Linked DNA regions of Homo sapiens: regions 1 and 3 are each linked to region 2. The links are contacts of gene promoters, found by promoter capture Hi-C in blood cells and fetal thymus (Javierre and others, 2016). All regions are on one chromosome and are shown on one strand. Each heading gives the region's core, a stretch centred on a gene start or on the middle of the fragment in contact. The rest is flanking DNA. Distances are from core to core; before and after follow the strand shown. Region 1 holds the start of OXCT1-AS1 (OXCT1 antisense RNA 1). Region 2 holds the start of LOC105374745 (a long non-coding RNA gene). Region 3 holds the start of FBXO4 (F-box protein 4).

Evidence for each region. The method cuts DNA at HindIII sites, captures the fragments that hold promoters and counts their contacts. A CHiCAGO score of 5 or more calls a contact.
Region 1: the fragment with the promoter of OXCT1-AS1 here is called in contact with a fragment that was not itself captured in region 2 in 1 of 17 cell types (total CD8 T cells); the score reaches 6.6 in total CD8 T cells.
Region 3: a contact is called between the fragment with the promoter of FBXO4 here and a fragment that was not itself captured in region 2, in 4 of 17 cell types (monocytes, M0 macrophages, total B cells and 1 more). The highest score is 6.7, in monocytes.

What each region holds. Positions count from the first base shown.
Region 1 is chr5:41,868,670-41,871,369 of GRCh38, reverse strand. It overlaps OXCT1-AS1 (OXCT1 antisense RNA 1), which reads right to left and starts at 1,340. Exons shown (of 3, transcript NR_046635.1): 1 at 1,178-1,340; 2 at 988-1,079; 3 at 1-604. OXCT1 (3-oxoacid CoA-transferase 1) reads left to right here and starts at 945. Exons shown (of 17, transcript NM_000436.4): 1 at 945-1,089. The coding sequence starts at 1,012. LOC102723752 (a long non-coding RNA gene) reads right to left here. Exons shown (of 3, transcript XR_925956.4): 1 at 1,768-2,700. RefSeq lists enhancers at 349-398, 1,229-1,308. The HindIII fragment of the contact is 3,584 bases long and covers 593-2,700 here.
Region 2 is chr5:42,950,194-42,952,893 of GRCh38, reverse strand. LOC105374745 (a long non-coding RNA gene) reads right to left here and starts at 2,005. Exons shown (of 3, transcript XR_925964.3): 1 at 1-2,005. RefSeq lists enhancers at 1,042-1,311, 1,091-1,612, 1,991-2,135, 1,613-2,135, 2,112-2,171 and 2 more, a silencer at 1,722-1,821 and a cis regulatory region at 2,058-2,068. The HindIII fragment of the contact is 4,864 bases long and covers 1-2,700 here.
Region 3 is chr5:41,923,956-41,926,655 of GRCh38, reverse strand. It overlaps FBXO4 (F-box protein 4), which reads right to left and starts at 1,375. Exons shown (of 7, transcript NM_012176.3): 1 at 1,158-1,375. The coding sequence starts at 1,346. RefSeq lists a silencer at 938-1,117. The HindIII fragment of the contact is 6,278 bases long and covers 1-2,700 here.

The DNA.
Region 1 (2,700 bases), core at 91-2,590, 1.1 Mb after region 2:
AAGACAAGGCTTGGCGAATATGTACGTGCCATGTCAATGAACTGCTACAATGGAATAAACTTATAATAATGCCTAACATTTATTGACTCCTCATAATAAGGCCATAAACTTTGCATGAATTAACTCATAGAAACGTTATGACGTTGTATCACAAGCAATCCTAATTTGCAGATGAGGACACTGAGGCTTAGGGAAGTTATCTAACTTGCCTAAGGTTAAAGCAATATACTGCTTTTATGGTTGCATCTTTAGTAATCTCTGGGGTTGCTGGGACTCCAGTGCGAGAAAGAGCCCGAAATTCGCAAACTTGGATGATGGGGAAGAAAAGGTGTGCTAAACTCAGGTCACAGAGGTCCAGTCTTAATCTTGTTCCTCTGCAAGCCTTGTTGCTCACACCTCTTGACCGACAGTTCGAGGCAAGTGCTCACAGCAAACTTACTCTATGTAAGCCAAGGCCAGATGTGGGGAGAAGGGGCTGAGAAATGTTAGAAACGTGAACGCAGTCCAGGCGGGAGAAGAGAAGGGGGCCTCGAGGGGTGCCCCTATGCAGCCCACACACACGCCAGGCACTAACTTGGAAAAGCAACAAGCTTGGCGGGAGATCCTCCCGCGGCCGGAGGGCCCTGAACCCTAGGCCAAGACTCATCCACAACCTAGGGGGAGGCGGCCACCAGCGCCCCATCGAAGCTAAAGGGCTGACAGAAGGGCTGTAGCGGCAAGTGTGCGCCAACACAGCTGCACACGCCCAGACACCTGAGGCGCTGAGAGGAACTTCCCCGCGATCCGCCCCGGCTGCACAGAGCCTCTTCTCCCCGCCGGGGCCCCGCCCAGCCTCACTTCTTTTAAAAGCAGCAGCCAGCAGCGCGCCGGTGGCGTGCGGCTCGAAAGGCCGGGAGGACGTCATCGACGCGCTGTCGAGCCTCCAGCCCGCCCGGGTTTCCTTCGCAGTCGCGCACCGACGCTCAAACGCGCGCTCCAACCCGCAGCCTCCTCCTGCCTCACCGCCCGAAGATGGCGGCTCTCAAACTCCTCTCCTCCGGGCTTCGGCTCTGCGCCTCTGCCCGCGGATCTGGGGCAACCTGGTACAAGGTAAAGTGCGGGGGAAGAGGAAGGCCATGGGCAGGAAGAACGTGGACCAAACCCTGAGTGGTGCCCGCGTTTTCTTCTCTGCCCCTACCCGCTCTCTCCAGCCTGGGATCTGGCATCCGTGGCGCGGTGCCCTGGTCACGGACACGCGGCGACGCGTTCCTGGCCTCGCCGGCCCCTCGGATGACCGCCTTTGCTTGGTTCTGCAGTCGCTTCCCTGATGGAGCGAGACGCGATAAAGAAGCGCGCGGAGAGGCTGAGAAGGGGCGGGAGGACTCCTGGCAGCGCTCCCGAGCCCTTTGGCGCTCGTCGGCTTCCCTCCTGGCACCCGCCCTTGGATAGGGACTCTGAGGGTCTGAACGGGGGGAGGAGGGCGCCAGTATATGGAGGTTTAGGAGTGAGGCAACAGCGGGTAGGTTTGCGCCCCCGATGTTGGATCTCTGGGCAGAGGAACCTCTAGAGGCCCAGAACCTGAGGCTGGGTTAGCCATGGCTCTGCTCGAGTTCACCGGGGCTGGATGCCGGGTGCGGCGGGTGTGGAATGCCGCTCCCATCCTCTCCTCCCTATTTGGCTCTGCTGCCCCGTAGACTGGAGCGCTCGCCAGGGCGTCTTGCCGGCCAAGCTGGGAAACCATCCGAGGTGTGTCCCTGGCCCGCGCCTGGGCTGCAGGGGAGGACAAACCTTTCTCTCGAGGCCCCTCGTATCCGGGTTAGGGGCTTTCGGTTTTCAGAGCCCTTTGAAATCCTTTTTGTGCCCCACTGCCGACTCTCCACCGAGTGGTATCCGGAGGCATTCCCACCGTGGACTGACTTGTGGTTTTGCCTTATGCACTGTCCTCGCTTGTAAGCCCACCCCTGTCTGGAGCCCTAGGAGCGAATTACAGGACCAGAGCGCCAGGTCCAGGAGGGTGGCTTTATCCCCGCCGTCTCAATCGCGGGAGCCTCTTCCTTGGTATTCAGTAATAGGTCTGAGCTTGACAGCGTGCCATGCACACGGTGCTTACTCCTGAAGCGTGCCTGCCTGGCCCCATTGCTCTTTCCTGCATCCAATCCCTGACCGCTGAGAACACAGAGGAGCCACTGAGCTCCTTCGGTAGGTGCTAGGGAATGGTTCAGAACTGGACCATTTTACTCTTAAATGCCTCTTAGGAAGCATTTTTATAACTGCAGATAGACTTGGATATATAAAGCATTATTAAAAGGGAACTTGACCTTCAGTGAGATTGCAGCGGTGCTGAAGCTAATACAAACCAGAGCACAGCGATACCCTTGGGCCGAGGTCAGGAACGTTCCTTCTTTTGACAGTTACTGATTTGCCCAACTGTAATTTACTCACTTCAAGTCTTTTCCATCTTGAGTATATCATTAAACCATTTCCGAAGCTCAGCAAACCTCATCTTAGAGGGACGAGATGCAAATAAGGGGTTCTGCTATATCTCATTAAAAGTTCATACAGAGTTCAAACTTAGCCCTGTCAGGCTTGATTATCATAGGTCTAACTCCTGCCTTCCACTATTCCCCTAGCTTGTGGCTCTTAGTGCCCTTATTGTTTTTTTTTTTTTGAGACGGAGTCTCGCTCTGTCGCCCAGGCTGGAGTGCAGTGGCGGGATCTCGG
Region 2 (2,700 bases), core at 157-2,656:
TACTGTTAAAAAAAAAAATAAAGAAAAAAGAAATAAAGAGAAAAAGAAAAAAAGGAAAGAGAGAAAGAAAGGAAAGAAGAAAGAAAAAGAAAAAGAAAGAATGAAAGAAAGAAAAAGAAAGAAAGAAATAAAAGAAAGAAAAGAAAGAAGCAGAAATAAAAATATAACAGACTTCCCTAAGCCCGAAAAACAGCCTTGGGAATCGAGAGTGGGTAGAGGCCACAGCACTTTGGTAGCACGGAGCGCACCATGGGTCCATCGCTGCACGGCTCCTTTCCCGGCGCCAGCGGTTTCTTTCTTTTTTTTGAGACGGAGCTCACTCTGTCTCCCAGGCTGGAGTGCAGTGGCGCGATCTTGGCTCACTGCAACCTCTGCCTCCTGAGTTCAATCGATTCTTCTGCCTCAGCCTCCGGAGTAGCTGGGATTACAGGTGCCTGCCACCACAACCGGCTAATCTTTTGTATTTTAGTAGAGATGGGGTTTCACCTTGTTGGCCAGGCTAGTCTCCTGATCTCAAGTAATGCGCCCACCTCGGCCTCCCAAACTGCAAGGATCATAGGCGTGAGCCGCCGCGGTCGGCCGTGGCGCCGGCGGTTTCTCATTGCCATTGCTACTCCTTTGTCAGCGACAGCGGATGCTCTCTGGCCGCAACATTCTTTGCGCCAAAAGTTGTTTTTTTTGCAGCAGCGCAGGCATTTGCTGCGGGCAAGTGCTCGCCGGGTCCCATTGCCGCTGGTTCCCTTCCACACAACTTGTGAGTGTCCCCCCCACTCCCACAATCTAATCGGTTTAGGGAGCCAGAGGTTTCCCCGCGGCACTCTGCCTGTGGCGTCCGGCGAAGCCGGGGAATCCGCTGGAGGCAAGGCTGGTTTCACTGAGTCCGGCGTTTCTCCGTACCCGTACTGCTCTGCGCTCTGTGCTGGCCCAGGCGGGTCTCAGCACCGCTAGGTGCTGGGTAAAGGCATTGTCTGTTGTGGGTAGGATAGCCGTTAAGGGAGGACTAAAAGTTTCTAGCAGAGCCCAACTGGCGGTTTCTTGATCATATGAACACTAGCTCCGCGGAGCTGGATGTACTTCAGTGGCAGTGCATGTTTCTCTGTGGCATCCCCACAGCTGCCGTCCAAACTGCAGTGTTTCGCTGGCACCACTGCCACGTGGGTCACTTTCTTCAGTGGCTGCGCGGTTCCCTGCATCGAAGTCGCTTGTTTCTGATCCGCGCTTTCTCCCGGATGGCCGACCAGACGGTTTTCTGCTAGTTGTGCTACACATAGTTTCCTGGTCTCCGTGCGCCGCTTTCTCCATCCGAGACCCTCTAGTGCCGGTGTCACGGTCGCAGCACCTGGGGTTTCCATTGGCTGTTTTGCCTGTGGCGCGGAGTAGGCGGTTTTTCTGCCACAGCACTTGTCGTACGGAGTTTCTCGGTGGCCGAACCTCTCTTTTTTCTCAGAGTCGATGGTTTCTTGGTGACGGCGCCATTGGCTGCGTCAAAACGAATGTTGTCCTTGACAACCCCGCCGGCTGGCGTCACTCGCAGGCTCCCGGCACCACCATTTCGCCAGCCGAGGTCTCTCGGTCGCGGCACCGCTCGTTGGTCTGCGCCTCCATTTTCTCAGTGGCCGCAGCACCCAGGTTGCAGATGTGAGGGATTCGGTGTCGCAGCTGCCCCAGTTGCGCCCAGTTGCGCCTGGAGTTACCGGGCGGCGGCGGCGCTGGGCTGGGGGAGCCAGCCGCTCCTCGGGGCCGGTGGCAGGGGAGCTGCCGGGGCGCCTTCTCTTCCCAGCGCCGCCGCACGGACTGCGGCTCGGCCTCCAGAACCCAGTCCGGTGGCTGCGCTGCTGGGGTTTCTGTGACAGGACCCCACGGTTTCGGGCGTCGTTGGCTTCTTGGTCCTAGGAAGTTTCTATTTCGCGGTGCCTGCGATTTCTACCCCTTGTTCAAGTCGTGGAATAGTCACAATGTGATTTCTCAGCCCAATCAAGTTCCGACTTAGGACAAACACCGGTCTGGCCCTGGCTGCGATTTCTAGGTAGTAGGAAGTTACTGTTTCATCGTAACGAGGCTGAGTCACCCTGTGACTCACATCTCAGCAATTCCGGGTTTCCTGTAGCCTCGGAATTCTAATCCTAACAACCCCGGGTTAGCCCTGCCTCAAGTTCCTTAGTCATTGCAAGTTTCTTACTAGTAAGCTCTGCTTTAGCTGCTCAGGAGACGTTTAACTCCTGTAGAAATCTGGGTACCAGCGAATGCGGTTTTTTTTTTTTTTTTTGCTTAGCGATGACCAGTTTAGCAGGGCCTGGGAGCTCTTATACTAAGTTTGGTTTCACAATAGCGGGTCCCGCCTTAGCTAGGCCTGTGTTTTTTAAACTCCCCTGGAAGTCAGGAAATGCAGGCAAACGGGATTTTTCAGTTTTGCCAAGCCCCAGTTGACAATAGCAAGTCCCGCCGAAAGCGACTTTTTTTCCTACCATTTTATAGTCTAAGCTAAACAGGTTTAACCATGACTGTTATTTATTTATTTATTTAATTTGGTAGGAAATTTAGACTTAGGTGTAACATGTACTGGTTTAGATCGGATAGGGATATCCTAATCGTAGGATTGCATTACAAACATTTGTAATTTCTTCTTTGTAGGAATGGTTGTCAGCAATTTTTGCTTATTTTTTAATTGTCTTTTTGTGTCTTGCTCTGAGAACGACATTA
Region 3 (2,700 bases), core at 126-2,625, 1.0 Mb after region 2:
TTCAAAATAAAACCCATATCAACCTTTATCTGATTTTATCATCAGACCAAATCAAAGAGTGTACATTTGTCTTTTTCTTTTTTGAGACACAGTCTCGCTCTGTCGCCCAGGCTGGAGTGCAGTGGCAAGATCTCGGCTCACTGCAAGCTCCGTCTCCCAGGTTCACGCCATGCTCCTGCCTCAGCCTCCCAAGTAGCTGGGACTACAGGCGCCTGCCACCAAGCCCGGCTAATTTTTTATATTTTTAGTAGAGACGGGGTTTCACCGTGTTAGCCAGGATGGTCTTGATCTCCTGACCTCGTGATCCGCCCACCTGGGTCTCCCAAAGTGCTGGGATTACAGGCGTGAGCCACCGCGCCCGGCCGTAAATTTGTCATCTTAGTTCCTCTACAGAATCTATTAAAATGTTATGAAAAACCTCTGCAAGGAGAAACTTGGAGGCATTCTAAACCTGCAGCTTTCACGTTGATATACACATTGGAGAGAGGTGTCAATAGTCCAAATGAGACAAAGAATTGTAATAATTTTCAATAATTTTTGTTCTCTTCATTTACCTATCTACCCCAAAGTTTAACAATAAGTTATGTGTGTCATTCTCGTGGCCTTGATGTAACTTGAGGCACTTGTAACTTAAGTCATTTATTTTCAACTGAGGGGCCGTTTTGTTTCTTCAAATACACAATAACAGCCACAGGCACAATGTCCTCTTGAGAGGGTAAAAACCTTGGCCCTCCAAGTGTTTTGGTACAGTGATCCGGAATCAAAGACGCTGGGAACAGGGACGCTGGAATGCTTTCCCAAGCTAATCAGCAAGTTGGGAACTGTCTCATTTCCGTAACCGGACATTCAGGGTGTCCTAGTCACATGTGCCTGTTTTGGCGGGTGGAAAACCTGAGGGCGATCGGGAGGGTCCCCAGGGGCCCCATGAAGGTGCTTCCCTGAGATGTTCGGGCCCCCTGCGGAGCACCAGGGTCCACGCCAAGACGCTTCTGATCAACTGTAGCTTCTCGGTGACTACACTGCCAGGAATGGCTGCATGGACGGAGCCAGACCCAGGCCGGGGCGCGAGAGTTCCCCAGGCCCCGGGGGGCTCCAGGGGAGGTCCCTCCGGCCCGGGCCGGCCCCACTGTCCTCCGCGGCCTGCGGCCGACGCTCACCGGCAGCCGCGTCAGGGTGCTGGCCGCCTCATCCACCTCCTCCCGTGAGGTCGTACGCGCCACCCTCTCCTTGCTCACTGACTGCCAGAAGGTCTTCCAGCCGCTGAGGATGGCCGCCTCCAGGCGGCCCCAGTCGCTGAAGGGCGGCGGCGGCGAGTTTGTTCCGCTGCGCGGCTCGCTTCCCGCCATGGCTTGCCCGCAGCGTGGGTGACGCGTCTTAGAGCCACGCTAGCGCGTCAGCCTCCTGCGCAGCTCCGCGCCAGCCGAGGGCGCCCTCGGGCGTTCCGCCTCCCGCTTCTCCCGCGAGTCCGCCTCCAGGGCAGGGTTAGGCCCAGGGGCAAGGGCGGGTACTGGGAGGAAGCCCACTGTGCGTGGCTGTGAGCCGAGTACGAAGCTCCTGTCAACAATTAACTTCCCCAGTAACTTGTGGCCTCAACCTCAGCCACGCCAACCGCAGAGCCCCTGTACAACCTCTGGCCCGCTGACTTCCTGGCTTCATTCAAGATGTTCTCTCCGGGATCATTTCCACTATGCCTGGTCCTAGGCGACTCCGCTTGTTCGATAGACCTCTGCCACTGTCTTGGGCTTAATAACCACTTGCTTCCTTTTCAGCACTACCATACTACGTATGGGGTGTTTTTTGTGTGTGTTATTTCCTCAATCACCAAGTTACCATTTATTTTCTTGAGTATCAGCAAAAACAGACTAGAGAGGCAGTCAGCGGGCCAATTACAAAGAACCTTTTGCCAAAATGAGAAGTCTGGACCCACTATGCAAAAATATAAGCACATTTAAAATTTGCAAGGGCGGCAAAAAACGGCTAGAAGAACCCAGATGTGGTGGTGTTGAAATCCCACTAGTGAGTTTTTTAATTCTCAAACCAGATGCCCATTCTACTTACTTTGGGCTTACTTTAAAAGTGCTTTAAGAGAACGTATTACAAGTTAATCTGTTACATAGAACTGGGTATGTATACATTCAAAAAGTAAATCTCTGAGGATCTAAATGTCAACAGAATCCAAGAAAGCCTGATAACTAAGGTTCTGCAAGGCTCTGTAACATACAAGTTTAAGTTTCATTACATTTTATTATTTGCATGTTGTTGGTAGGGGCCAATAACCAATAAAATTGCAGCCTCGTTTTTGGGAGGCAATCTGGACAAGGACCACGGATTAACCATATGGCATTTCTCATCACTTTCTAGGACACGATTTACTTTGAGAGCAAAAAACGAACTAGAGCAAGAAAAAAAATCAGTTCAAGTATAAAGTATTAAAATGATATCTGTTAAATGAATGAGAAAAACTTTATTACGGAAAATTTTGAACATTTATAAAAGGAGAGTGAATAATATGCTCCTGTGTGCCCAGTATCCAAGATTCCATTACCAACACCTGGTTAATCTTGTGCTGTTGCTATACTCACCTAATACTACACCCCCAATTCTGGATCCTTTTGAAACAAATCCCAGACCTATCATCTGTAAATATCTCAGTATCCGTCCCTAAAAAAAACAGATTTTAAGAAACAGACCACTGTACCT